7 separate regions of the Homo sapiens genome follow, and all the other regions are linked to region 1. The links are contacts of gene promoters, found by promoter capture Hi-C in blood cells and fetal thymus (Javierre and others, 2016). All regions are on one chromosome and are shown on one strand. The core of a region is centred on a gene start or on the middle of the fragment in contact, and the rest is flanking DNA. Distances in the headings are between cores, read along the strand shown. Region 1 holds the start of ZNF280C (zinc finger protein 280C). Region 2 holds the start of OCRL (OCRL inositol polyphosphate-5-phosphatase). Region 3 overlaps OCRL (OCRL inositol polyphosphate-5-phosphatase). Region 4 overlaps OCRL (OCRL inositol polyphosphate-5-phosphatase). Region 5 has its middle 39 kb from the start of APLN. Region 6 has its middle 9.0 kb from the start of ENOX2. Region 7 overlaps ENOX2 (ecto-NOX disulfide-thiol exchanger 2).

Region 1 (4,115 bases), core at 1,193-3,692:
TAATGTATTGTATATTTCAAAATTGCTAAAATAATTTCTAACATTCTCATAACAAAATGATAAATTGGTAAGGTGATGGCTATGTTAGCCTCTTTCAATAATGTATACATATCAAAACATCACATTGTACCCCATAAATACGCACAATTATCATTTGCCAATAAAAAGTTAAAAAGGAAACAAAAAAATGAAAAAAAAAACTCCTTAAAAGAAAACTACTTTGCAGCAAATGAATAAAGTCTAGACGAATACTCTACTTTCAGGAGTCATTTCTACAGTTCATTACTAGTGATGTTTCTCTGAATGTACAGAGCACTGGGAAAAAAAGTCTAGACGTATATATTTGATTCAAATTACTGAGGAAGGCTGGGCATGGAGGCTCACTCCTGTAATCCCAGCACTTTGGGAGGCCGAGGTGGGTGGATCACGAGGTCAGGCGTTCCAGACCAGCCTGGCCAACATAGTGAAACCCCATCTCTACTAAAATTACAAAAATTAGCCGGGCGTGGTGGCAAGGGCCTGTAACCCCAGCTGCTTAGGAGGCTGAGGTAGCAGAATCGGTTGAACCCGGGAGGCAGAGGTTGCAGTGAGCTGAGATCGCGCCACTGCACTCCAGCCCGGGCGACATTGCGAGACTCCGTCTCAAAAAAAAAAAAAAAAAATTACTGAGGAAATCAAATCTTTTTGAATCACTACTTAAGACAAACTCACTGAAAACCAAGTAGCTGAGATTTGGAGTTATTCAACCTAAGAACTTTTTCAATAGGATATTCTTCAACTCTTCAACATGCTTAGAAATAATATTAAAGTATGAAAAAGTCGAAAAAAAATGAAGCCTTAAAAATAAAAATATAAAGGAAAAAGGAATTGAATAATACTTCTTAAAACTTTTAAGTGAGCCTCCTTGCTTATTCTCCGTGACCACCTCACTCTCACAAAAAGTGAGACATAATATACCAAATTGAACATTGGATGAGGGTCAGAAAGCCTAGGTTTAAGAATTGGTTCCATCACTTCCTAGGCACATGACCTCGGTAAAGTTCTGTCCTTGAGGCTGTTTCCTCATCTTCAAACAGTTCTAACGACACCCTACAGCCCATCTCAAAAGGGGTGCTACCAATGAAATATACAAATGCAAGATACGATTATAATGGAATCTGTACTGCTGTAGAAACATCAAAGGTACACAGCCCTAATTTTACAAGCAAATCAGTGCCTTTGTAGGCTCAGTGAAGTTTCTGCGTAAGGAGATTAAGTTTGCACAGTAACCCCCAAACCAGGACACCTCACAAATACTAAGAGGAGACTTTTGCAGTTTAAAACTCTACTTCTAGGTTTCTATTTTATGTTTAGGGGCACTAAAAGACATTACAACTCATAGTCCAAACCTGAAAACAATAGTAAAAAAAATTTAAGGTCGCAGATTTAAAAAACTCCACAAAACTAACAAATCTTTCCAAACAAAGAGAATCCCCTGGATGAAGGTCTCCCGTGCTTGCAGAAGCTGGTTCACTTGACAATTTCCTCTCGAATTTCTCCTTAAAAAAGCATTAAAACCTGAGAGAAGTTGAAAGGAACTCCCTCCATCTCTAGAGCAGGAGTATACCTCAGCATAATTTTTTCCATCTCTTTAAGTAAAACCTGCAAACCTCCTAGTTAGAATATAGTGTATTTAACTCCACGTTTCTCCTCAGGGCTCTTATCCTCTAGACAATAACGGAATAGAGCACGATTTCTGTGACAGAGAAGGGAAGTCCCTTTGGCCAGAACAAGGTTGTGGGCATGGAATGACCGGTCCTGTGTGGGGGGAACCTGCGCAGAAAGAAGGGGTCACAGGGTCTCTGATGCCTGAAAGTTCGGAATCCCCTCAAGTCTCTTTTCGTTTGATTGAAGAGACTTGAGGGTGGGCGGGTCTCCGTCAAACATCAGTATCAACCGTACAAAAGACGAAAGGGAGTTGCCTCCAGAATGAAAAGCCCAAACCGGGTTGGAAACAGACCGACAGGACTCAGGAGGTGAGAAGGCTGCCGCAGCTGCCGCGGCCCGCGAAACCACTGCCCGCCGCGGGCCGCCAGGCTCTACCTCCAGAAAACCCTCCCCCTTCAGGGCCCGGCGCAAGATGGTGGCCCACCAGCTACCACGCCGCCAAGCCTGTCCCCTCCCCCGCACCCCCGTCGATCCGCACCGGCATAGAGACCCTCAGCCAGCCGCCCTCAGAACCGCCCTCTGGGGAAGGCTGCCTCGGCCGCGCGGGAGAGCTGCTGCCTCCTTCCGCGCGGCACAGGCGGGGGCGGGGGCCGCTTACCGAGAGCAGAGCAGATCGGTCTGACTGGGGTTCGGATAAGGAGGAGGAGAAAGAGGAGGAGGAAAGGGAGGAGCGCGAAAAACCTCAGGCGACAGCCTCAGCAACAGCGACTCCCCCGGAGACTTCCAGCGCGGAACCGGCGTCTCAGCCGGGGGCAGAAGTATATAACTGCACGCGCTGCCTCATGGGTAGACGCCGACTCCACCCCCTGAACATCCGGGGCCTTTTAACCGCCCACGGACGGACGGCTGGTACTTACATGTGCACATGTGCAGCTACTTTACTTACCGTCGAAGGCAGCGGAGGAAGTGTAATTGACTAGCGTGGATGCAGCTTTTCTAAGCAAACGCTCGATTTAACCTGGAGTTGTCATCCCAAAAAATACATTGTACCTGACTACAGAGAAACATGAATTCTGGGTCTTCCTTGTGTGTGAGGGCTAAAGACACGAGTTAAAAATATAAATATATTGTTTTCTGGAAATACTGTACTTGAAACACGTCTCAAAATACTAGTTATTTTTACCTTTTGTTTTAAACATATGGTTTTGCTTGTCTCTCTGTTACTTCTAATTGCCATATGGATGCCTATAGTAGGTACAAAAAATGCTAAGGAAAAATACATTTACTCTTACACACAAGGAAGACCCAGAATTCATGTTTCTCTGTAGTCAGGTACAATGTATTTTGTGGGATGACAACTCCAGGTTAAATCGAGCGTTTGCTTAGAAAAGCTGCATCCACGCTAGTCAATTACACTTCCTCCGCTGCCTTCGACGGTAAGTAAAGTAGCTGCACTTGTGCACATGTAAGTACCAGCCGTCCGTCCGTGGGCTGGCCGCGGTGGCTCACACTTCTAATTCCAGCACTTTGGGAGGCTGAGGTGGGTGGATCACCTGGGGTGAGGAGTTTGAGACCACTTCCCTTTCCTCCTCGCCTTTCTCCTCCTCCTTCTCTGAACCCCAGTCAGCCTGACCAACATAGTGAAACCCCATCTTTACTAAAAATACAAAATTAGCAGGGTGTGGTGGCACATGCCTGTAATCCCAGCTACTTGGGAGGCTGAGGCGGGAGAATCACTGGAACTTGTAAATACATTTACAAGAAAAACACTTGCCAAAATACTGCTTACAGAAACATTTTCTAGACATTGTGCTTTGAACTGTAAAAGTTTCTTCTCCCAAATTTCTCCACAAGGTTTATAGCAGTACTGGTTCATCTCTCTTTTTCTTTTTTGAGACGGAGTTTCGCTCTTGTTGCCCAGGCAGGAGTCCAATGGCGTGATCTTGGCTCACCGCAACCTCCGCTTCCCGGGTTCAAGTGACTCTCCTGCCTCAGCCTCCCGAGTAGCTGGGATTACAGGCATGCGCCACCACACCCGACTAATTTTGTATTTTTAGTAGAGACGGGGTTTCTCCATGTTGGTCAGGCTGGTCTCGAACTCCCCACCTCAGGTGATCTGCCTGCCTCGGCCTCCCAAAGTGCTGGGATTACAAGCGTGAGCCACCACGCCTGGCCCAATTCATCTCTTAAGAGTTGCCCAGACTGAAAATATCGTGTGGCTTACATAACACACACGTAAATCCTGTCACTGAATCCTACCATTTTTTTTATTTGAGCTAGTTTTTTCTTTCTTATTTATACAGCTATTTGCTTCTGACCCTGAAAATAAGCTTTACAGGAAAAGACAGAGAATAATCAAAATAAAACAGTGAAAAGTCCCAAAATCTTGGAGCATGCATAGTTGGTCCCTGCTTCCGGTCAGGGTGATAAGAAAGTCCGGGCACCTTTTCCTTTGATGCCAGCAGGAA
Region 2 (4,115 bases), core at 606-3,105, 730 kb before region 1:
GAAGTGGTAGATAGTGATACATAAGCAGGGAAGAGGGATAGGGAACATGTATGTGTGGTGATGGAGAAGGGGATTGTTGAATTACAATTTTCAATAAAGTGGTCTAGGAAGGCTTCAGTGAGAAAGTGACATTTGAGCAAAGACCTGAAGGAGGTGAGAGTGCATGCAGAGTGAACAGCAAGTGTAAAGGCCCTGAGGTAAGAGTGTGCCTGGCAAGTCCTAGCAACAACAAGGAGTCAGTGTGACTAAGCAAAGCTAGTTAGGGAGAGTGGTGGGAAATGGTGGGAGATGTCCGAAAGGTGATGACAGCTTGTCTTTTTTTTTTTTTTTTTTTTTTGAGACAAGGTCTTGCTCTGTCACCCAGGCTGGAGTGCAGTGGCGCCATCACAGCTCACTGTAGATGTGACCTCGCTGGCTCAAGGGGATGCTCCCACCTCAGCCTCCTGAGTAGCTGGGACTGCAAGCACTTGCCACCACATCCAGCTAATTTTTATAGTTTTTGTAGAGACAGGGTTTTGCCACGTTTCCCAGGCTGGTCTTGAACTCCTGGGCTCAAGTGATCCTACCACCTCGGCCTCCCAAAGTGCTGGGATTACAGGCATGAGCCACTGTGCAGGCCAGTTTGTCTTTTAACTTGTTTATATTGTCTTAAAGTACATACATTTTGAAATTTCATGTAGCTAAATGTCTTATTCTCATTCCATATTCCAAGCTCATACTCAATTTTTTTTTCTGAAAGTTATAAAGTTTTGCTTTTCACATTTAGATCTTTAATCCACCTGGAACTGATTTTTCTTCCATGGTTTGAGGTAGGGGTCTAATTTTTATAATTTTCCATATGGATAAGCAGTAGTCCTAGTACCACTTAGTGGATAATCCATTCTTTCCCCACTGATTTGAAATGTCCCACACGCTGCATATCAACCTTCCGTATATGTGTGGTCTGTTTGAGGGGTTTATATTGTGTTTCATTGATTGTCTATCTCCACAGCATACTTTTAATTACTACAGATTTACAGTCACTCTTGATATCTAGTGTATTATAGATTCTGGAGCAAATGAATAACACGATCGAAAAATTACTTTGGGAAAAATATTTTTATGGCTGTCAACAGAGTAAACATGTCAAAGGAAAGAGTAAACCCAACAGGATTTATTTAAAGAAAAGTGCAATAACCCAGATAGGCTATCACAAGGGCTTACAATAAAGTTATGGCAGTGTGAATGGAGAGAAAATAAGGAATCTAAAAGTAATTCCACGTAAAATATTAACAGGGTGTGTTGACTGATTGGATATAGAGATGAGGAGGGGGAAGACGATATATGGCTTTCCAGTGAAATGATAATGAGTTAGTTTTGTGACGCAGTGATGTGTTAACAATGGACTCTATTAGGTAAGAGGTCTGGGCCAGGGATATATATTTGGACATTGTCTAGTTAGAGGTGAACTGGAGGGGACGCAGAGGAGGAGCAAAGGTCTGGGCTTTGGGGAATTCTCCGATTTAGGGCGTGGAAGAAAGAAGAGGAAAGGAAATGGTAGGATAACCAACACGGGACATTATAACCTTAAGAAATATATATATATATATATATGTATTTTTTTACTGAATGATGTGGGTCGTATTGACACAACAGGTTTGAGATCTCCCATAGGTATGACTGTGTTTTGTTTCTGTGGCCTTCAAAGTCCTCAGAACAATTTTGATGTCACAGGTGGCATTTAAAACCCATTCCTTGCTGGACCTGGTAGAGACGCCCCCAGTCCGTCAGGTCTCTCGCTGCAGTTCCGCAGTTTGACCGCAGGGGACGGAATCTGCGGCGGCCTGGAAAACTGGCGGGGGCGCGAGGCGCCGCTCTCTCTTGGGTCAGATTCTCAGCTCCCAGCTCCCCGCTCCCGGCTCCCGGCGCCCGGCGCCCGGCGCGGAGCTGTTCCTCAAACGACACGCAGCCGAGGTGGGTGGGTGTGGGGACGCGGGAGCCAGTGTCGTCGGATCGGCCCGCAGTCCGCTGTCCTGCTGAGCCCGGAGGCCGCCTGGATGGAGCCGCCGCTCCCGGTCGGAGCCCAGCCGCTTGCCGTATCCGCCGGAGAGAAGGGAGAGGGGAGGCCGCGCAGGGCCGGGGGTGGGGGTCGGGGGCCCTGCGGAACACGGTGGGGCGGGGCAACCGGGTGGCCCAGAGGCCGAGCAGAGAGGGGGAGGGGGCCGGCGCGGGAGACGAAGCAGGGCGGGGCGGGGCGGGGGAGGGCGGCGGTGGGGGGGGGGTGGAAGACCCCCTTCGCCCCGCAGTGCACCACTCCTCCCCACCGCGCTTCCGAAGGAGACCCTTGACTAGCGCCCGCATACTGTCGAGGGTATGGAGATGAAGGGTCCTCTCCGGGAGCCCTGCGCCCTGACCCTAGCCCAGAGGAACGGGCAATATGAGTAAGTAACCACCTGATTCCCACAGAGGAGGGGAGCCTGCCATTACCTCCCAACCCCAAACCGCGACGGGTCACCCACTGTCCTCCTACTGAAGCCACGCGGGCAACAGGTTCAGGTCCAGGTGTGAAGTGCCAGTGCTCTCTAACCTCGGGGCTTTGTCCCCAACTTCCAAGCCTCTGGATTGTGCTTGGCAGTGTGGCTCAGTGGAAGGACTGAATGGGCGGGGAAGCAGGAAGCCTGGGTTCTTAGTTCCTGCCCCTGCAACTGACATGTGTTGTGTAACGTTGGGCAAGTCAATAAAGCTTTCTGGGCCAAAGTTAACTCTTCAGTTTAATAAAACCATTAACTGCCTTACCTTACAGCCTTTGGAATTATAACTGGGGGAAAAATAAATGCGAGAGTGGCTTCCAAAAAGTAAAAGTGCTATGGAAATGCTTCATTGTTAACGTTACAGACTTGTCTTAACCCTATTCAGCTGGTTTCTCCAGTCTCCCCGTCCCCTTATCCCACTGGGTTGAAGGCATATTCATTAATTCAGTAATGGTTTAGTGTAGGCCAGAAACTGCCTCACTTACTGACTTTACTGTTAGAAAGAAAAGGTAATGAAATGTGTAGAGATAGAAATGACAGTATTTTATCAGTGTGTCACCTTCCTCTCTGCCATAGGAGCTCCGTAAATACTGTTGACTGATTGATCAAAAGATTATTTTGATAAGCTATCACCATAGCTGCTAACCTCACTCTATTGTCACTAATATCTTATCTCAAAAATATCCATGGTGACCATTACGTATCATAGGCCCCTATCCCTGTGTGCCCAAGACACCTCACTTGGATATTCATTGGCTTCTTGACATCATATTCCTTCCCAGTTTAAAAATTGTTCACTTAAATCTTGCCATCTCCCAACATTGGCTTCTGCCTAAAACCAATTTTCTCAGTCCCCACTTTTAGATCCTCTGTATCTATGCTGTCAGATTTACACGGAAGAAATTCCCACTGGCCCAACCTGCTCTTCTCTGAGACTATTGGTGCCACTCTAACTGGATGTCAGCTAATTCTGTGAAGTAGCTCTTTCATAGGTCCTGCTTAGTCAGCTCTACTGGGAAGTTCATCAAACCCGGATTTCATCAAACCCTGGAAGACTAGTTTAATGAAACTAAACTAAATTCAGAATTTAATAAAACAAAATTCAGCAGAAAAGTGGAACACCACTAACATTTCCAAAGGCTAGAGTGGGTTACAGAGAGGTGACCCTTGGGCAAACCAGTAAAACTTGTGTGCCTTGGTTTCCTCTAATGTAAAAACAAAATCATGAAGATTGAATAGAGTAGCTACATTGTTGAGATGACCACAGCCCAGAATCTAGTCCCTCGGATTAGTAGATTTGGAACTCTGTTGAGCTAATAAGGAAGTCGTGTGTTCCAATTCTGTGTAAGTTATGGGGGTATAGTTGGGGGTATATGTGGGGGTATGGGGCTGCTATATAACTAACATTAATATATAGGTAACACTATATAACAACTATATAACTAACAACTAATATAGTTGTTGCTATATTAGCAGTTTATATATAAACTATGTAAATAGTTTTAAATATATATAAACTATAGTTTTAAATACATATAAACTATAGTTTATATATAAACTAACATATAACTAACAACTAATATAGTTGTTGCTATATAACTAACA
Region 3 (4,115 bases), core at 557-3,056, 690 kb before region 1:
CACCACAGTTTATTTTAAATAGTTACTGTAATGACCAGTTTTAAATTGTTAGATAATCTCCAAGGGAGATGAGCTAGAAGGATATAAGACTGAAAAGAGGATACATTTTCTTTCAGGTGAAGGTTGTGGATGAACGAAGGTACCGGAAAGTCTTTGAAGATAGTGTACGCATCATGGACAGAATGGAAAATGACTTCCTTCCTTCCTTAGAACTCAGCAGGAGGGAGGTGAGCAAAAATACATGATCTCCCTGTCTACTGCTCACTGTGGTTAGCACAGAAGAAACTGCTACTTAGAAAAGGCTACATAGCAACGTGGTTAAGCCCATGTCGCTGGAGTCAGACTGCCTCCATTCCAGTTGTAGCACGGCTGTTTAGTAGATGTATGACCTCAGGCAAGTATCTTACCCGCTCAGAGCCGCAGTTTCCTTTCCTGGATTAAGGGGTAGTTGTAAGGATTACATGAGTTAATACATGCAAAGCTCTCAGAACAGCACCCGGCACATAGTAAGCCCTCCGCTGTTAGATGCTCTTATTTAATATTTCAGAGTTGCTAGTTAATTTATATCTCAGAAACCAGGACTTGGTCACAGGATGAATACTCTGAACCAAGGTTGGGTTACCCTCTTAGGATCCTAGGAATGATCAGAGTAGCCTGGAGAAGTAGCAAGAGCCACCTAACTCCTTCTCTGCTGGTGTGAGTATAATAATACATGCAAGTGGATGTTGTGAAGTTGGTTCAGTTGGTGAATGTCTATGGCATTTGCACACCTGCTTAACAATTACCTTACTCCTCATATCCTCTATGGAATAATCCAACTGACTTACTTCCCCTACTAGTGATGCATGTTTGTGTCTGTCTGTTATTCCCCAGTTTGTGTTTGAAAATGTGAAGTTTCGGCAACTACAAAAGGAGAAGTTCCAGATCAGCAACAATGGACAGGTTCCCTGCCATTTTTCTTTCATCCCTAAACTTAATGACAGCCAGTACTGCAAGCCATGGCTTCGGGCTGAACCTTTTGAGGGCTACTTGGAGCCAAGTGAGTTTTCCCTTTACCATTGTCTCTGCTGGTGATGTCATGACTCCCATCCCCTTGGTTTAACTTTCTGTTTTCTAACCACATGTCTCTTACCTTTACTGTCATATTGGTGATACCTCTGGTGTGTGTCCTGTCTCTTCCCCCTCATTGCTTAATGATTTTTTTAGAGGACACTTTTCTGTTGGTTCTTATACTCTTTTTTGCTTTCCCACTGGAGGTTTTCCTATTACCATGTATCATCTCTTACATTTCAGATGAGACAGTGGACATTTCTCTTGATGTGTATGTCAGCAAAGACTCTGTAACCATCCTGAACTCGGGAGAAGATAAGATTGAAGATATTCTCGTCCTTCACCTGGATCGAGGCAAAGATTACTTCTTGACTATCAGTGGAAATTACCTCCCAAGTTGTTTTGGCACATCCTTAGAGGCTCTGTGCCGTATGAAAAGACCAATCCGAGAAGTTCCTGTTACCAAACTCATAGACTTGGTAAGAACTGTCCCAAGACATAAACCTCTTTTACATTTAATTTTCACAATACTTAAGTGACGTCCTCATTATCTTTGTGCTTTCTGTCTTCTTTTGGCCACGGGGGATGTCAAATGATAAAGAAGAATGTTACTTTAGCACTGTTTTGATTAGATTAAGCCTAAGGGGAAAGAGGGGGGACTAATCTGCAGTTGGCTCTTGTTGTGAGTACAATACATAATACTAAGCTCACCAAATAAGATTAAAGACTCCCCTCTCAAAGATATAATGCTTGTTTGTTAAGCTCTTCATACTCTCAAGTCACTTTTGTATAAATTAGCATGTACGTGAGGTATGCTAAGTGGGGCAGGCAGAATTATCCTCATTTGAGCATATGAGAAAACTGAGGCACAGAGACATTGACGTGCCCAGAGTCAAATACCATCAGTTAGTAACAAATCTAGCACCCAGATTTCCTGGCTCCCAGTTTAGTATTCCTCACTAATACCACATTATATCTAATCAGAGTAAAACTTTGCTATTTATGGAAGCATAGAACTATCCTGGAACCCTGGAGTACCTGAATCAGAATCCCTGGGGGTGCTTATTACAGGTACCCTCACTTCTGGCAATGGAATCAGAATCTCAGGATATGGAGCCTACAGATCTGCATTTTATCCGCATTCCAGATGCTTATAATGTACATTGAAATTTGATACTTACTTAATGTGATGTGCTTAAGAAAGAAAAGGAGGTTGATTTTCCCACCTCTCCCTCAAGCCAAGCTATAATATTAATGTTTTTATGAAGGAAGTACTTACTATCTTCAGTAACATAAGTTGATTTAGTAATAAAGTTCATTGTATTAAGAAATTTCCTTCTAAATGAAAATATTGTTGGATTGTATGCAGAATCTCTTTGGGCTACAAAAGTATATTCTTGGTTTTTTTACCAAAGAAAATTAGGTGAGGTGACAGCATACGTTATCCTTACCATTAGTATTCACATGGATCCTTTAGGCCTAGCCAGAGCGAGTGATTGTATCTAGCAGGGAGGTCTAGACCAGCAGGCAGGCTGCTGGCTTGTCTGAGTCCGATCTGTTCTGTTGCCATGGAATTGTTTTAGCTGTGACTCAGATAGCAGATTAAAACACTGAGTCCAGCCCCGGCATTCTTTCTTGGAATTATACTTATTTCCCCAGAGCCCTCATGACTGAGTATATTACCTCTGTTTGAGAGAGAACCATTTTCTTCAGAAATTCATATCCTACCGTTCTGCTGTTTTTCATGATAATTGTTTTTCTCCTAACATTATATTTCTGTCTTTTAGATTTTAGTATTTCACCTTTTAGAATACATTTTGGATGATGAAGTTGTTTTTCTTATTTCTCCTACCCCCTTTCCTTCATCTCAGACATTATTTCCCAGCTTTCTTTGTTTCAGCTTTTTATTATGAAAAATGTCAAATGTGCAGAAAAATGGAAAGAACAGTACAACACACCCCCACATGCCTTCTGTACATATATACACACAGATGTTTTTTGCTGTGTCATGTAAAATTTAGTGGTAATATGTCACTTCACCACTGAACACTTCAGCCTGCATCTCTTAACAAAAAGGGCACACTTAAGCACAATACCATTATTATGTATAAGAAAACTAACAGTAATCCATAGTATCATTTAACATTCGGTCCATATTCAGATTTCTTCAGTTGTCCCAAGAATTTCTGTTATACCTTTTTTTAAACCAAAATCCAATCTGGGTTCATATAGTATTTGGTGAGGTCTCTGAAGTCTCTATTGGAGTAGTACAGTTCCTACTTTCTTTAGTGACATTGACTTTTTTAAGAGTCCAGTACAAATGTCCAGTCAAGGGTCAACCATTTCCTAAATTTTTCTGGTTGTTTCCTTCTTGTTTTTTTTTTTTTTAAACTTATCCCATTTATACTCTCTCCTTCCACCTTCATGTAAACAGGAACCTACCCTTATTTTTAGTCAGAGTCAGTGAAGATATTAGAATATCTTTGCCATTAATATGAAAAACTGCAAAGCCATTAATATGAAAAACTTTGCAGTTTTTCATATTCTGGGATTGGCCAGAAGAGGCTCAACCCTCATAAAGTTTTTATTTTATGTAAAGTATACTATCAGGTAATTTTACCATGTTTGCCCATGAACAGAAAGGAACCAAAATCATTAGAGGAATGAATGGCTCTTTGGGAAGCCTTTTTCCTTCTTTTTGTGCACAAGTGATTGAGGGTTAAAATAATAGAACCCTGATCATTTTTAATTACAGAATTTCTGAGTTTTTATTAAATTGTATGTGTGTGGACATCATTTTTCTTTTAAAGCTTTTATTTTGTAGGATTTAGGGTTCTTTTCACAGTCTGTTGCATTTCAGTGTTATTAAATTCCTGTATCTCATTGATGAGGAAATTATCTATACAGGTTGATTATCCATTATCCAAAATGCTTGGGACCAAAAGTGTTTCAGATTTCAATCTTTTTCAGATTTTCAAATATATGCATTATATACTTACCAGTTCAGCTTCCCTAATCTGGAAATCGGAAATCTGAAATGCTTCAATGAGCATTTCCTTTGATCA
Region 4 (4,115 bases), core at 868-3,367, 670 kb before region 1:
AGACAAGATGTAGACCCAGACAGAAGAAATCTGCTTCCCTACCATGGCTATTCCAGCACCCCAACCTGTAATTGCCAAGTCCTCTAAGGTACTAATTTGTAGCTGCTCTGAAGTAAGGATTTCGGATTCAGCTGGTAGGGAAAGACTCTGCACCTGCTGTCTTAGGGAAGAAATGGTTCAAATCCATGTGGTGACATTGCATTAGTCTCCCTTTCACTGTTTTCTTATTCTGTAATTGTTTGTTATATTTCCCAAAAACGTCTTGATCACTAAGCAAAGCTGCTAGTGGGATTCTATATTTCGTGTCATCTTTTTTATTATAATTTATTGCAAATTTTTTTCTGAATAAATATATGTTGTGTGAAAAAGCAAAGTGTGATTTTGGTGAGGAAGCACTCAGAAGGGAGGGCTTATGTGTCACTGGGTTCCATTCGACTTGACTGCAGTCCCCATCAGCTGTGCCTGCACTGTCATCACCTGTCTTACAGGGAAATACCATTTATAAGAATTCTTAGTATATTCACCCTCAGAGATGAGAAGAAACCATGCGTTTTCAGAGGCTAATAAAGGTGTCCTGTACTTTCAGAGGCCAGCCAAGTACCCTTATTTTAACCCTAAGGATTCAGGCAACAAAACAACTCAATTAGAGGAAAGGATGTTGATTCTTAATGCATGTAAATGTCACACTAGGTCAGATCTGTGATCCCTCCGGCCCCAGAAACAAACCCTAAGATACACATCTGGGGAGAACCCAGCTACCCCTGCTCAGTAGTCTCAGTAGTTTAGACGCGCTTCCCCAAAGAGCTTGTTTTCACATAATCCTATTTTGCAGCTTTTGAAAACCAGTTTTGAACTTTTATGACTTCTTGGGGTGATCAAGTCCATAAATTTAGTACTTTTTTGTTGTTCTAATCTGAACTGCCTAACACGTTGGGAGGAAACCGCTGATTTGAGCATGGTGCCAATGCTTCCCTGCCAATCTCCATTATGAATTTGTGGATTCTGATTCCATTCCCTTTGAGACTGAAGAAGCCTCAGCTGGAGGTTTCTTCTCTACTAAGGCCCTCTTCCAATTCCCTCCAACTGTGAGCTTGACCCTGATGAATGTGCTGACTCAGTGTTGTCATAAACAACTTTCAAAGCCCCACCCAAAGCCTTGGCAGGAGAAGGTGTTTCTTTCTGAGAGTGATTTTCCCCCCAGCAGATGGAGACTGACACCAGAAGTTTTTACATAGTAGCAGGCAATGAGAATAGCAGGCAGGTGGTCAGTCTTTCCAGAGGTTAGAGAGGAAATGGCATCCCCAGCTGTGAGGCTTCTGTTATAGGAGACCCATTAGGACCTTTCTGATTGCAGGGCAAGTTGAAGAACTGGCTCTTGGTGTAGCCTCATAATGTAAAAGCCACACATTGCAACAGTGGCATCACTAAATGTTAGGGAGAGAACCTTAGTGGTGACCTAATCCAATCTCATTGTTTGGATAGGGAAAGTCTCAGAGGGGACAATGACTGACCTAAGGTTACTTAGGTTAGTGACACTGCATGGCATAGTGGCATTTGTTTTTTCAAGCAGTTCTACTCTGCTTGCCCATTAATTCCTTTGGTGGCATCTTATCAATTTCCGTGGCTGTAAATGTCTGTAATACCCCTGATTCCAAATGTTACGTCTCCACCTCATAGCTCTCTTCCGAGTTCCTGCCCAGTATATCCAATTAGTTAGCTGGCATCTCCCCTCAGATGTCTCACAGGCATGTCAAGCTTCACACGTCCAAAGTGGAATTCTTTTACTTCTGGTTCTTTTACTACCACCCAACCTAGATCCTCTACCTGTCTTCCCTCAGCTCAGAGAATGTCAACACCATCTGCCCAGTTGCTGGGGCTAAGCATCTAGGAGTTAGCCTTGATTTCTCTCTTTCCTACCGACCGACCACCTCAGCAACGTGCCCCACGCGTCTGCTTTTCATCACCCCCACTGCCAATTTTATTGGTCAAGGCCACCACCATCATCCCTTCTTAGGGTGTCGTCATGGCCTCCTGCCTAGTCTTCTTTCTCTCTCTCTCTCTTTTTTTTCTTTTTTGAGACAGGGTCTTACTCTGTTGCCTCAGCTGGAGTGCAGTGGCATGATCGGCTCACTGCTGCAGCCTGACTTCCCAGGTTCAAGCGATGCTCCCACCTCAGCCTCCGAGTAGCTGGGACTGTAGGCGCACATTACCAAGCCTGGCTAATTAAAAAAAAAATAATTGTAGAGGTAGGGTCCCCCTGTGTTGCCCAGGCTGGTCTCAAACTCCTGGGCTCAAGCAGTCCTCCCACCTTGGCTTCACAAAGTGCTGGGATTAGAGGCATGAGCCCACCATGCCCTGCCTGGTCTTTTTAACTTTGCTGCCCTCCAATCCATTTTCCACGCAGCAGGCAGCATGACTTAATTACATCAGTCTCATCCCTCCCCTGTTGATAACCCTTCAGCGACATTTACAATGAAACCTAAGCTTCGCCATGGCCCACCAGGCCCTGCATCAATGGGTCTCAAATCTTCATGTGCAGAAGAATCACCTGGATACATTGTTAAAAAGCAGATTCCTAGGCTCCAGAAATTCTGAGTCAGTTGGTCTGAGAGGAGGCACAGGAGTCTGCATTCTAAATCAGGACCCAAGAGCATTTTGATGCAGGACCACACTTTGAGAATACCACCCTAAAGGATCTGACCTCTGCCTACCATAACCCTTCCTCACCCCTGCCAATATACTCTGATACTGTCCTTTTACTCCTCCCAGTGAGCTGAACTCTTTCCAGCCTCAGGGCCTTTGCATGTGCTGTTTACCCAGAAAACTCCTTCCTCTCTCTTTCTTGCCTCAGTCCCCATCTTTGCTGTGCCTAACCCTAAGTCACCCGCCCTGTCCCATTGACTCTCTGCCCTCATTCCTGGGCTTCCTGGTATAGCATGCTGGCTGACTGCCCCTGGGCTTGCCATGTACTCTTCCACAATCTTCCTCTTCCTCTCTTGATGACCTCACGTACCTGCTCCACGGGGCCTGGGGAGGCAGGAAGCTATAGTGGTTCTTCACATAGGCTCTAATGACCAGACTGCCTGAGTTCAAATCCCAGCTCTGCCACTTCTAGATGTGTGACCCTGATCAAAAGTTAATTGACGTCTCTGTGCCTTGGTTTCCATGTCTTTTCTCTCCAGCTTTATTGGGTATAATTGAGAAGACAAATTGTACGTATTGAAGGTGTTTCCACATCTTAAAAGTAATGATAGCACCTTTCCTCATAGTATCATCATGAGGATGAGATCAGATACTACATTTCCAGGCCTTGGAACAGTGCCTGGTGCCTAAGTGCTAAATAAATGGCAGCTAGTGCAATTATTCCCAAGCCCTCCATGGGCCTCCAGGCCCAGAACCCGCTTCTGCTGCCCTTCAGCTCCCAGCAAGTGACTGTACCCTTTACTTTGTGAAAATGTCAAAACAGCCTTGCCCCCTGCACATCAAAATGTCTTCAGCTTAACCTCATCCCTCCCCCTTTCCATCTGTCTGAGAATAAGCGGTCCTCCTCGCCAAGACCAGCTCTTCCACCTGCACTTTTGAGCCCTTCTCCTCCACCCTCTCTGGACTTTTCCCCATCAACCATCACTCCTCCTCCTACATCTCAGTATGGGTTATTCACTTGACAAGTATTTGTTGAGTGGCTCCTGTGCGCCCTGTGCTGTTCAAGGTGCTGGGGATCTAGAATTAAACCAGACAAGGTTGCCGCTCTCATGGTGCCTTCATCAAGAGGGCAGGGCAGGGATGAGGGTGGACAGACATGCAAATTAACAGTACCCAAGGTCACTACAGATCCTGACAAGTACTGTGGAGAGTATCAAACGGGGATGCACTCGAGGGTACAGCGGGGGGCCTTGGTCAGGAAAAGTTTATTTGAGGAGGTGATGTTTTAGCTGAGACTTAAACCTCAGGAAGCCAAGACACCGTATCTTGATTTGAATACCCCCAAAAAGAGCCACACGTGCAAGATCTGGCAAAAGACATTCTGAGCAAAGGAAAAGAGAAATGCAAAGGCCCTAAGGCAGCAAAACAGCTGGCTGTGCTCAGGGGACAGCCAGGCAGAACTCTGTGAGGGA
Region 5 (4,115 bases), core at 1,008-3,507, 650 kb before region 1:
CAGCCAGTGAGGGTGAAATGAGCTATTATTAGTCACTACCTGGGAATTCCCCTGTTTTTGTTGTGGTTGTTGTTGATCTGGGTTGCTTAGGAAGTGCTACATCAATTCCTACAGCATTTTAGATCCTGTCTGCTGATAGTTGTGGTAAACAAACAATACCCTATTAGATGCTGCTGATTTTTCTCATTGATTTTGTATATGATTTAATAGTTTTGAATCTCAGTCAGAAGTGAAGATTACCTGTCAGACACTATGCTCACTACCTGGGTGACAGGATCATTTGTACACCAAACCTGAGTGGCATGTGATTTACCCATGTAACAAACCTGCACATGTACTCCCGAACCTAAAATAAAAGTTGAGAGGAAAAACAAGAAAAAAAAAGAGAGTGAAGATTTCAAAAAGTCATCTTGGCAGGGAAGTCATGTTGACAAGAATTTTCTTTGTTCTATGTTAGGATCTCGCGCTACCCAGTTTAATGAATTCTATGTAGAAATGTTCCCAAACACCGTGTGCTTCCCTCAAGGAATGGCTGAAAATGCAGTAGAATGTAAATATCATCATGTTTTGTAGACTGCTCACAAATCATCGAAATCAGTGAATTCATTCCAGCAAATTCTTCTTGAGCTCCAACTATGTGGAAGCTACAATTCTTGGTACTGGGATTACAGCAGTGATCAAAACAGCCTAAAGCCCCCTGCTTTCATGGTACATATGATATAATAGAGCGAGACAGAAAATAAAGAAAATGAATAAGTAAAAATTGTCATTTGATGATAAATGCTATTAGAGAAACATAAAGCATAGAAGGGGAATAGGGAGAGTGGGGGTTGGGTGCAACTTTAAATAGGGTGACCAGGGCAGGACTCACTGAGGAAGTAACTCATGAGCAAAGCTCTGAAGGGAGTGAGGGCATTTCCAGTAGTCCAGCTTGAGGCCCTAGTATATGTGAGACCTGAGGCATTGGCCTGGCTTGCCCTAGATGTTCCTCTTCTTTTTGAGCCTGCTTGTGTTTGTCGGCTATTGGGTGAGGCTTGGCACAAGCAGTTGGGCCCAAGGGCACCCACTCATCCCTCCTGGGCTTGGAAAGCTGCTGTGCTGAAATGACCCCACCCCCATGCCCCTCCTGGGGACAGGGGACAGTCAAAGAGCCACTAGAGGCTCCCAAAACTCTCAAAGGGGCAAACCCTCTCCCCAGAACCTTATCAGTTTCCTGGTGCAGGCACTGCTGAGGACCTCAGCTGTTGTCTGTCCTTCTGGGTTTCTATGTTTAGTGTGAAGGCAGCCCTGGCACAGGCCTTCCTTCCCCTTCCAATCCGCAACAGCCTGTGCTCTGCATTGCAGCGTCACTTCCCTGCTGGAGGTTGCAATGTTTGCACCAAAAAGATGGCTTTCAAAGCCCAAGGTGTGTGTGCGGGGGGAGGGGTATGTGCACACACACAATGGAAGGGGGGCTGTATCTCAGACCCTCACATTTCATGGATTCATATGTCTTTTGCTCTGAGCATAAGGCTATTGAAGTCACAGTCATGGATTCCTGTTCTTTCGTTTATTCAACATTACAGCATGGGGTTACCAGCCTGACTACTAGCATCACATTGACTTGACCTTGAATATTAGCCCAACCATCTGCTTGCCATACGACCTTAGACAAGCTACCTGTAACCTCTCTGAGTGTTATTCTCATCTGTAAAATGGGACTCAAATGCAGTACCTTCCTTGTAAGGTTGTCAAGATTAAATGAGATCATCTTTGAAAGGCATTCAGCACCATGCCTGGCACACAGTAGGTGTCTCATAAATGACAGCTGCTATTACTATTAATTAGCCAGGGCTTACTGCACACCCATTGTGTGCCAGGCACAGTGCTAGGTGCTGGCAGAGTTAGCAAGAGGAACTCAAAGATGAGTGAGACAAGGCCCAGCTTGGCTCCATTCCTCACCCACATGTGGCTGCCCCAAGGCAGTCACCTCATCCAAGGGACCTTGCAGCTGAGTGTGCAAGCACCTGGGCCCTGGCGTGGGACCCAGTGGGGTTCAGGCCAGGGAGTGTCACCAGATGGGTGCAACACCCATACCCTTACCCTCACAAATGCCCCCCGCCCCACGCTGCCAGAATGTCACCTGAGTGCTGAGTGCCGGGCCTGCCCCACAGGGCATTGGGACGGAGGGCTCAGCACCAAGGCAAGGAGCTGCTCTGTGGGCTGGTCTGGACACAGTGGAGATCTGGGTCAGCGTTTTTCTGAGTGAATTCTTTTTTTTTTTTTTTTGAGTCGGAGTCTCCCCCTGTTACCCAGGCTGGAGTGCAGTGGTGCCATCTTGGCTCACTGAAGCCTCTGCCTCCTGGGTTCAAGCTATTCTCCTGCCTCAGCCTTCCGTGTTCAAGCGATTCTCCTGCCTCAGCCTCCCGAGTAGCTGGGATTACAGGCATGTGCCACCACGCCCGGTTAATTTTTGTATTTTTAGTAGAGACAGGGTTTCGCCATGTTGGCCAGGCTGGTCTTGAACTCCTGACCTCAGGTGATCTGCTGGCCTCGGCCTCCCAAAGTGCTGGGATTACAGGCATGAGCCACGGTGCCCAGCCTTGGGTCAGTGTTCTTCTGTTTACCCTCTTCAGTGTCTCAGCGGTTGGCAAGGCATCATCACTCTCTACCTTTTCTTGGGAAGTGGATTCCCCTCCCTGTCAGAGACTCTTCCTATTATTTTGGGGCCCCTTTCTCTTTCACACTCATTCACACACTCCCCAATCTATGTCCTCAGTCACTACTAGCCTTAGTGGTCAGTGGATCCCCATGGCGAAGGGGAAGCTCATTGGATCATAGCAATATAGCTCACTCGCCCACAGGGCGTGGCCCACTGGAAGAAGAGGAGAGGACAGGACAGGACTTGGCCTCTGCCTTGCCTGATGGATTGTGTTATCTCATGCAGGAGGGAGTGGGGAAACCCATGTGGCATTCGATACACAGCCCAGTGCTAAACTATGCAGTCTGAGCTCTATGCTGTCTAAGAAGAGGGCAAGGGCAGTGAGGGCCATAGCAAGGAAGGGAGACTTGAGCTGAATCTCAAAGGAGAAGAAGGATTGGGATGGGGTGGCAGACTCCAACCTGGGTCCAGGGGGATGTGCTCAGCTGTCTGATGGCTGGAAGCAGAGACCCATGTGCCATGAGGAGTGAAGATGTCCATTAGGCCCAGGTGAGAGGTGGAGCATGCGAAGTGGGGGTCAGGGCTGGGGGCAGAAGAAAGGCATAGAGGAACCATTGGCCAGAAGGTTGCAGAGGCCATAGGGGTAGCCTTTTTCCTCCAACTCCCATTCTATTCTCTTTTTAGCCTTTATTTTCCGCACCATTCCCCTCCTCTACTCTCTTTCCCTTTTTTGGGGTCTCTTTGTCACCCTCCTCCCTTTTTTCTGAGTCTCAGTTATTTTATCTGCAAGATAAATGTGCTCATCCTGGAAGCTGGTGATGTTGCCTCTCCTGCTTTTCATTCCAATTCTGAGATCTCATTCAGCAAGAACTGCTGTCTTAGGGCTGCTCTCCCAGGACTGGGCCCTGTTGGCTCCTGTGGATATACATCCACCAGCAGAAAAGCCTGAGGGTCCAGGCCTTGGGATCTGTGCCACTGCTTGCTGGGGGTTGCGGGACAAGCCTGTTTTGCTTCTCACTCAGGCTGAAGACAGGTGAGGATGCCAAGTCCAGAAATTGCTTTGCTTCCAGCATCAAATGGCTTCCTCTCAGCAGCACAGTCCCTTTAAGATGGCGGGGGGCGGGGAAGCTAGAAGAAGACCTTTGATGTTGTTCAACTGAGAAATCCATCAGGTGGGAACAAGCCCGGAAATGCCAGAGTGAAGGGCTCCGTGGTTGGCTGCATTGGTGGGTCTACTGCCTGGACTTTGTTTTCTGATGGTAAACGTTCCCTGACATAAACACAGGCAGAGCAGGGAATAACAACATTCAGTCCCCAAACAAACAAAACAGGAATGGGACCTGTCTTGCACGGGGAATGGCTCTTGTTGCAATGATATAGCTCAAGAGGCCTTCACTGTGGAATTTCCTGCCTTGAGCATGATGAATTTTCCATTCTTGTCCTCGAATGAACAGTCGCCATAGAGCTTAGTGGC
Region 6 (4,115 bases), core at 985-3,484, 640 kb after region 1:
GTTAAAGGCTTGGTGTGAAATTGGAGTTAAGCCTCCAAGTTCAGAGTTAGGAGTTTAGGCTATGTCTTGGGTTAGGTGTTTGGCTGGTGGTCAGGGTTAAACACAGGATCTGCATTCAGTGTTGGCAGCTTGCTCTGTGACCAAGCTTAAGAGACTGTTTGCTCAGCCTGTGGTGATAGTGATTGGTAATTATACATCAATAAAGTTGTCATAAAAGGTTAAAAAAGTGGATTCATACAAGTGAAATGGTAGGAATGATGCAGGGAAGAAACCATAAAGAGAGGCCGTTTACTGAATCAGGACCAGCAATGTCCTTGGTGTCTCAGAATTTTTGCTTAAGAAGGACAGGGCAAGCACATGAGATTGAGAAGAAAGGAAAGAACTGGTGACCAGGGAGCTGGTAACCCTGGGAAGTAGATATGTGCTTCTTGAAGGACAGACATTTTTATAAATTGTGGAATTAATGCAAGTTGGAAAACCTTGCAAAAAATGGAAAGTCCCATTTGGTTTTTTGTTTGTTTGTTTTGTTTTGTTTGTTTTTTGGGGATTTTTTTGAGACGGAGTTTCGTTCTTGTTGCCCAGGCTGGTGTGCAATGGCGCGGTCTTGGCTCACTGCAACGTCTGCCTCCTGAGTTCAAGTGATTCTCCTGCCTCAGCCTCCCAAGTAACTGGGATTACAGGCACCCACCCCCACGCCCAGCTAATTTTTTTGTATTTTCAGCAGAGACGGGCTTCACCATGTTGGCCAGGCTGGTCTCAAACTTCTGACCTCAGGTGTTCCACCCGCCTTGGCCTCCCAAAGTGTTGGGATTACAGGCATGAACCACCACACCCGGCCAGAAAGTCCCATTTGTTAAGCTCTTACATCATGTTCTTTTTGCCAGTATTGGTTTTCCTGAGCACCCTTTCTAAACCATTCCTCATCTTGCCCCAGGCTACACTGATCTCCATTATATCTCACTCACTATATGTTCAATAAATATCTATGGAATGCATGTTTGTTTTTACTTACATTCTCCCATGGAGGCTCATGACAGTCCAATATGATAAGTGTTGTTATCCTCATTATACAGATTTTAAAAAGCTGTTAAGCTAATTAAGAGATTCAAAAGAGCCACACAGCTAGTAAATGCAGAGCCAGGTTTCAAATCCAGTTTTATCTGACCCCAGTCTACTGTGCTTTTTGCATATGCCACCTGGCCCATATAACATATGTGAGATTTACATCTCACCTTGACCCCTTGACTTTGTCAACTTTGTCTTAATTCTTACAGCAACTCTAATTTTTCATCTGGAAAATTGGGATGAGAATAATATTAATACCCATTTCTTTTCTTTTTCTTTTCTTTTTTTTTTTCAGAGATAGCGTCTCACTCTGTCGCCCAGGCTGGAATGCAGTGGCGCAGTCTTGGCTCACTGCAACCTCCGCCTCCTGGGTTCTAGCAATTCTCCTGCCTCAGCCTCTCAAGTAGCTGGAACTACAGGTGCATGCCACCATGCCTGGCTAATTTTTTTTTTTATTGTAGTAGAGACAGGGTTTCACCACATTGCCCAGTCTGGTCTCGAACTCCTGAGCTCAGGCGATCCTCCTGCCTCGGCCTCCCAAAGTGCTAGGATTATAGGTGTGAGCCACTGCGCCCGGCCAATAGTACCCATTTCATAAGATTGTTATGACAATTAAATGAGCCAATACATTGAAAGAACTTGGATTCATCAGGTTCATATTATGATGATGCCCTTTTTGGAGTTGAAAAAACATGTTCAGAGAGTTTATTTTCTCAATATCACACAGCTAGTAGGTAGCAGAGTGAAGAGTAGAATCCAGATGGGTCCAACTCTCAGTTGAAGGCTTTTGCTGGTTTCTCAGGCTGCTTCTGAATACCTCAGCCTCCAGGAATGGCTTTTGATGGACATTTTGGGCTTCGGTGCAGAGTGACACAGGGAAGGATTTAGTGGGAAGAATATGTTAGTTTTCCACTGTGTCATTCCCTACAGTGATTTGAACCTGTGAGGAACTGAGAGAGTGTACAGAAGGGGGCATATCATCATCTCTGTGAGGGTACATGTAGCTTCTAGGGCACCCTCTCCATGAGAATCACTGAGTGTAAAATGTAAGTTCGTGATAGTGTGTTGTGTGTGTGAAGAGTATGGGGGCAGCAAAAAGGTGGATGACCACTGAGGTAGGCCTCCATGCTTTTCTCTATGCCCAAATATCAGCCTTGCCAACAGTATTTCCAAGGGACTGTACAGCCAACTTTCCATTATTTCTACCGTCTGCTCTTGGCTTGGCTTGGCTTATCTACATTGTATCTGGCATCTACGTCTTTCCCCAGGGAGTCTATATGCTGTGGACAAGAGGGATTGATTATGTTCCTGCCTTCAGTATGGCTAAACAAGCTCCTGCTGGGCCTGTGGGACACTATTAAGCAGACCAACGTTGTCATAAATGGAAACTCCAGCAGGATAAGAGAGAGAGAAAGGGGCACAAAGAATATCTGAATGACCAAAAATATCCCAAACCTGATGGAATATGTGAATCTACATATCTGAGAACTCAACAAAATCCAAATAGACAAACTCAAAGAGACCTATTTTCTGATGCTATGGTTGACGCACATTCTTTGGCTATAGTATAGCACCTATTCTCTAGTTAAAATCTTGTGCATAATCTCAGTACATGGAAAGAGCAAATCAGAGTGCTCTATTCCAGTCCTTTACTTCCTGATGCGACTCATGGTCAAAACTTGACCCTGGTATATGCAAAGCTCAAATCCCAAGATCATGTTTTCTGCATCTATAGTAGATACAACTTTGCTTTACGTGATCCATAACCTTCCACTCAAAGTGATAGGCACTTTTGGGACTTCGGGCTGGAAGACGGGTATAATCTCTGGCTGGAGAAAAGTGAAGACTGGGCCACCAATTCACAACCAAGGAGGCTTCATCAGGATCTCATTAGTGGGTCTCAACTATTTTTCTTTGCTTTCATTCTTGAGCTACCAGACCATGGGCCATGACCCATTATCTATAAATCCAATAATCTCAAAAACCGAAAGTTTTCATAAGTTTACCACCAAAACTCATTAGGTAGCAAAATGTGACCTGAATCAACATAAGGCTACTTACAGTCTTCAACCTATTTCTATGAATATTCATTTTGATATAGAAATACTAATGTGTTTGTAACACCTACCAGGGGTATTATAGACCATGTATATATACCATATTACCTTTCTAAAATCTCTCAAATAATGAATTTCAGAAAACATCGGCCCCTAAGTGTTTTGTATGAGGAATTTTGGATATGTATTTCCTCTCCTTGCTGTCTCATTCTAATGTCACGTTCCTCACTTTATCCCATACCTGGCAACATCTGCCAAGGCCAGGGAATGGGAACACTGAATGCTTTTGCAGTAAAACTTCATATCATAAAATAAATAATGATGAGTTGAATTAGTATGACAGAGGAGGAAGTGCTAAGAAAAATATCTTCATGTTTTTCCTCCATCGTAGGTTCAGATCCAAAAACATATTCTCCCATACCATATTGACAAACTCTCCAAGGTTCTCCACCTAAAGACCCATTTGTAATCCAGCTGAAAACAGACAGGGGTTGGATGCTAACCTCAAAACCTGATTACTGCTGCTGCTGCTACTACTACTACTACTACTACTACTACTACTACTATTACTTGTACTACTATACTAACATTGAGTACAACTTGCCAACTTCTTGTTCTAGAGCTTAGAATCCAAGCTCTTTCAATATATTGGCTCGTGTAATCGTCATAACAATCTTATGAAATGGATACTATTATAATTACCATCGAAATTTTACAAATGAAAAAAACGGAAGCAAGAGAGATGAAGTCATGTATTCAAATCCATACAGCTAAGAATTAGCCAGGCAAGGATTTTGATGTACCTCGTACTTCCTTTGCATCTTCACTTTATTTTGAAATTGACTTATGGCATAACCTAATGGACTTATAGACAGGGGGAGAAGTATGATGGGCTATGGGTCTGGGGAGCCAATCACCCATCCTCACCTGCCAGGATCCAATGAGGCTAAGGTGTTTTCATACACATTTTTTTCTATGGAGTCTGGAATGTGG
Region 7 (4,115 bases), core at 415-2,914, 620 kb after region 1:
TTGCTTTAATTGCAGACAATTCAATTCAGCAGCTGTTGGTCCAGGCACTAAGGTTCACTGTATGCTCTTCAACGTAACCTTGAAATATTGTCACTCACTCACTTCTCCACATCATCTGCATGCTGTCCAATTAATGAGGAGCGAAATCAACTGTCAAACCACGCATCAAAATAGAACATGATCTTTTAGCTGTTAAGCGTAGGAGCATAATATTTTAAGAATAATAAAGCAACAATGGAGATGAAAGTCCTTGACAACAAATGATATTCAAACTTATCAAAACAACGTGGTTGTAGGAACTAAGCTTCTGTTCTGTGAAGCAAGAAAGTGAAACTTTCTCAGGGTTTTTCATTTGCAAGGGACCTTTCTGTCTAACTGCTGTGTAAGAAGCCTTTCAAAAAACATTCGCCCATACCTGATCAGAATCTTCTTCATTATTATGGACCATTATGTTTCTGAAAGCTTAAGAGAATACTTAAGAAACACTTTTGATCCAAGGATATTTTACAATACAGATGGTTTGGGGCTCGTATTTGTAGCTTTGCTGTTTCCAGCACTTTTTTTTTTCTGTCAGGAGAATAAACAAACAACAATAATATATAATGTTCATCAACCTGAGTTCAGTAATGAAAAATAACTAAATTTACCAAACAGATGTGTCCTGGAATGCTTCCTGTTTGAAGTTTCCCTACTCTTAGGTATATCCCAAATCTATACAACCAATTAACAAATACAGGAGTTAATAAACTCTAGAGAAACATAACACACTAAGTGTTTAAAAATTGCTTTTTGCTTCCAAAGCACTGTCTTCTGTGCAAACACTCTAAGCTATATCACATACTACCAGTTGCAGACATAAGACTTGAGAAATTCAATACAAGAATACAGCAGAGAAGCGTGCACAATTAAGGGATCGGGACTACCAGTTTAACAGAAAACGCAGATTTTATACAGCAATCTGCTACAAACATTATAGCTGGGGGCAGGCATGTTTTATGCAGCTATTTTGTTTAGCTCATTAGAACCCTATTTGTCCTTCAGTACAGTTGAACTGAAGGAAAAATAAAAGAAAGAAATGCACTTTGAAACAAAGGGGAAATTCAGATAAAACAAAACATACTATACCTGTATATTGTACCAGGAACATTGTGACACTCTTCAGGGAACTGTTTCACGTTGTATCCTATCGTGAGTTATTCTCTCCTTACCCTCTTCTCTCCACAAGAAGAAAAGCCAAAGCACCCCAAACCCCCACTATACCCTATCCCTAACCCACCCACCCCATTGAGGAAAAAGAAAAATAGCTATAATTCAGCTTAGATCTGACGCTTCTGTTTAGCTCAGCTCCAGCCGAGCAACTGAGCTTCAGCAACGGAGCATAGGGAGGAGGATTCTGATGCCAGTAGCACTTCCATCCACTTCACTTACACAAAAGCAGGCAGTGGAAAATCCAGGAGCCTTGAAGACAAGGGCTGGAACTGGCTTTTATGAATTGCTATTACTGCATGTGTCACCATCCATCTCCAATGACGGACACTTATAGGCTGAATTGGGAGTGGAGGGGGTGGGGTGGAGGAGGTTGGAGAGCAGGTGGAGAAGCAATTAGCAGTATGTTCATTGGAGAATTCGTTCGGGATTTCATACATCAGTGCCTAAAGAAACAGCATGCAGTTGACAAATCAGAACTTTACGATTTGCATGCCTTGGAAGAAATCTTAGCTCACAGCTCCAAACAAAATAATGTTTGCCCACTCTTACAGGGCACAGAAAGTCACCCCTTTGCTTTTTCTTTCCTCTGGCTACCCTTATTCCTGAGAAATCAACATTCAGAATGAATATTTGCTAATTTTCCCTAAAGAATTGTATTTTTAAAAGGCTGGAAGCAAAGGAAGTATAAAGAAATTAAATTCTATTGAACATGACATCTCTTAACACAAAGGCAAGAAGCTAATTATTTTAAGGCAATTCTTCATCCCTAGTCCCATTCCCCAAGCGCAGCTTTCACACCTATAATCAGTGGATCACACAACTTTTGTCCATATATTTAACACTGAAAAACAAATCTATGTCTACCTAAAAATAGTTCAGTTAAAATGAAGGTGAAAAGCCAAGAGCTATGTGCAGGACCCACTTCATTAGGTGACTTGAGAAAGCACTTTACATGTAAGTGCTTCAGTTTTACTCATCCACTAAACTAAAGCTCATTTTTAGACGGATTTTAAAATTAATCACGAGTAGGAACAAAAAGGAGATAGTGTCTTTGGGAGGAAACATGATACAACCGAAGGAGCACTGGGGCTGGGTATCAGGAAACCTGGGTTCAGCTTCCAGTTCTACAACTTTCTAACTATGTGACTCTGGCCAAGTCACTTAACTTCTTTGAGCCTAAGTTCCCTTTATTTGTTAACTGGAGATAATAGTACCTATCCTGACTGTCTCACAGGATTGCTGTGAACAGCTAATGAGATAATAGGTATGAAAACCCTTTTGTAAATTGTAAAGGGTTATACAATTGTATGGGATTATTACTACCATGCCCTAAACAAATCTTGCCTTAATGATTGAAGTGAGGCACCTCTATCACATAAGGCAAATAAAAAGAAAGAACTAATATAATTTCATGAAACACTGCTCAATTCTTACAATTTTTAAATTAGACGGAATCGCTGTTTGCTCTTAAAATTCTATAGCAGGGAACGTTTTTGAGAAAATTTTAAAATAATACATCAAAAGTTTATTAAAGAGACTGGAGCCCTCTAAATTCTCTCTTTCCTTTCTGGAAAGTCAGTCCATTTTTCTTCATATGGTCTAGCATTATGTCCCATCTGGAATGCAAACTACTAGATAATGAGCATCTCCTTTTGTTCAAGCTTTCTATTTGCCTGTTACATCCTCATTGCCCAGTGTGTTGGGGGAGGATTCAAGGTGATTAACTAAATCTAAATCCACAAGGTAAAAATCCAAAGTTATGCTTTATGAGGCTCCAAGCTGCCTTGATCCTATGTATACAGTGACCAGCTGGCTTCAGCTGGGACACAATTTTAGCACATGAAGTCCTGGGGTGGCCACACCTGGGGCACTAAATGATCCAGGCAATGTTTGGGGATCTTTGGTTCAGCCAAATCCCACATGTCCTGATTTCCATCTGTATGGTGGTTCCCAAGTGTGTTTGTCCACATGAACCAAATCTGAAGCAGCCAAAAGAAAGGTGGGGGATAGAGCAGGGATATCAGATGTCAGCTCCTCTTGGTCCCATCCAGTGCTATCTGTGCCCTCAAACAAGTGCCCATCCTACTTCTTGTAAGAAGAAAGAAAACTTTTTCTAATTGCCCCTTTGAACGTCATTGCTACTACTGAAGATGCCAGTAAAATATATATCCAAAATCTATGTTAAGCCAATTGGGAAAAGGATAATATTAATCACATAACAGGTAATTGGTAGCTAAGAGCAAGTGAGCTGCTGAAAGGGGGAAGGGGAGAAAAAGACAAGAGAGGAGGAGGGAAACAGAGGGGAGGGGTGGAGAAAAGAGAAAATGAATCTAAAGTGAGAGCTTTCTAATCAGAAACATACTTGCTGAAATCATCCAAAGTCTCACCTACTATAATAAAAAGTGCTTGTCTTTTGAGGTATTGGGAGTGGCCCCCTAACCATCAAAGCTGCAAACCTAGCCTTCCAACTGCTTAGGGAAACAGTCAAGAGCCTGAAAAGGTACTGACAGCCCTAGCACCAGATCTCACTTTCCTCTGCCATTCAGAAAGTGAGTCAGGTGGGATACAATTCTCCAGAGGCCTCATCCCTGCTACCGTCCACCACAGCCTCACTGGCAGCATGGCTGCCCACTAAGGAAGGTGTCAGTCCAATTTCAGGTTCAGCAAAGGAGGCTTGCCTGTGACTTTTAAAACCACATTGGTAAGAAAGGAACAAAGGCTGTATTTCAGAATAGGACTGTTCTCCCTTTGGGCATTGCAACTAAACTCCTTCACAAATTTAAGCTTGAAATTCATATTCCCCAAGTTCCTCAGAAGGGCCATTCAAAGTAAAGGGAAAGGACAGGAAAGATGATTTTTTTTTTGTTAGCTTCTTTCTGACAGTCAAAAAATGAGGAATATGACTG

Evidence for each region. Contacts are between HindIII fragments. The CHiCAGO score rates a contact against its expected background, and 5 or more counts as called.
Region 2: a contact is called between the fragment with the promoter of OCRL here and the fragment with the promoter of ZNF280C in region 1, in 12 of 17 cell types (activated CD4 T cells, M1 macrophages, non-activated CD4 T cells and 9 more). The highest score is 16.0, in activated CD4 T cells.
Region 3: a fragment that was not itself captured here is called in contact with the fragment with the promoter of ZNF280C in region 1 in 1 of 17 cell types (total B cells); the score reaches 6.3 in total B cells.
Region 4: a fragment that was not itself captured here is called in contact with the fragment with the promoter of ZNF280C in region 1 in 3 of 17 cell types (activated CD4 T cells, M1 macrophages and monocytes); the score reaches 7.3 in activated CD4 T cells.
Region 5: a fragment that was not itself captured here is called in contact with the fragment with the promoter of ZNF280C in region 1 in 3 of 17 cell types (total CD8 T cells, activated CD4 T cells and neutrophils); the score reaches 5.4 in total CD8 T cells.
Region 6: a contact is called between a fragment that was not itself captured here and the fragment with the promoter of ZNF280C in region 1, in 2 of 17 cell types (naive CD8 T cells and total B cells). The highest score is 6.1, in naive CD8 T cells.
Region 7: a fragment that was not itself captured here is called in contact with the fragment with the promoter of ZNF280C in region 1 in 1 of 17 cell types (total B cells); the score reaches 5.2 in total B cells.

Annotation. Positions count from the first base shown.
Region 1 is chrX:130,266,457-130,270,571 of GRCh38, forward strand. ZNF280C (zinc finger protein 280C) reads right to left here and starts at 2,443. Exons shown (of 19, transcript NM_017666.5): 1 at 2,306-2,443. RefSeq lists a silencer at 2,144-2,223. The HindIII fragment of the contact is 6,334 bases long and covers 1-3,975 here.
Region 2 is chrX:129,538,404-129,542,518 of GRCh38, forward strand. It overlaps OCRL (OCRL inositol polyphosphate-5-phosphatase), which reads left to right and starts at 1,856. Exons shown (of 24, transcript NM_000276.4): 1 at 1,856-2,075; 2 at 2,341-2,420. The coding sequence starts at 2,037. RefSeq lists an enhancer at 1,689-1,983 and silencers at 1,700-1,759, 1,870-2,069. The HindIII fragment of the contact is 8,325 bases long and covers 1-2,720 here.
Region 3 is chrX:129,575,024-129,579,138 of GRCh38, forward strand. It overlaps OCRL (OCRL inositol polyphosphate-5-phosphatase), which reads left to right. Exons shown (of 24, transcript NM_000276.4): 16 at 117-227; 17 at 874-1,039; 18 at 1,294-1,529. Among named protein-coding and RNA genes, the nearest start is that of OCRL, 37 kb to the left of the region's middle. The HindIII fragment of the contact is 4,103 bases long and covers 1-3,858 here.
Region 4 is chrX:129,592,189-129,596,303 of GRCh38, forward strand. OCRL (OCRL inositol polyphosphate-5-phosphatase) reads left to right here. Exons shown (of 24, transcript NM_000276.4): 24 at 1-368. Among named protein-coding and RNA genes, the nearest start is that of OCRL, 54 kb to the left of the region's middle. The HindIII fragment of the contact is 729 bases long and covers 1,754-2,482 here.
Region 5 is chrX:129,613,774-129,617,888 of GRCh38, forward strand. No RefSeq gene overlaps it. Among named protein-coding and RNA genes, the nearest start is that of APLN, 39 kb to the right of the region's middle. The HindIII fragment of the contact is 7,528 bases long and covers 1-4,115 here.
Region 6 is chrX:130,910,110-130,914,224 of GRCh38, forward strand. No RefSeq gene overlaps it. Among named protein-coding and RNA genes, the nearest start is that of ENOX2, 9.0 kb to the left of the region's middle. The HindIII fragment of the contact is 4,182 bases long and covers 144-4,115 here.
Region 7 is chrX:130,886,089-130,890,203 of GRCh38, forward strand. The region is part of intron 2 of ENOX2 (ecto-NOX disulfide-thiol exchanger 2); the gene reads right to left. Among named protein-coding and RNA genes, the nearest start is that of ENOX2, 15 kb to the right of the region's middle. The HindIII fragment of the contact is 2,408 bases long and covers 461-2,868 here.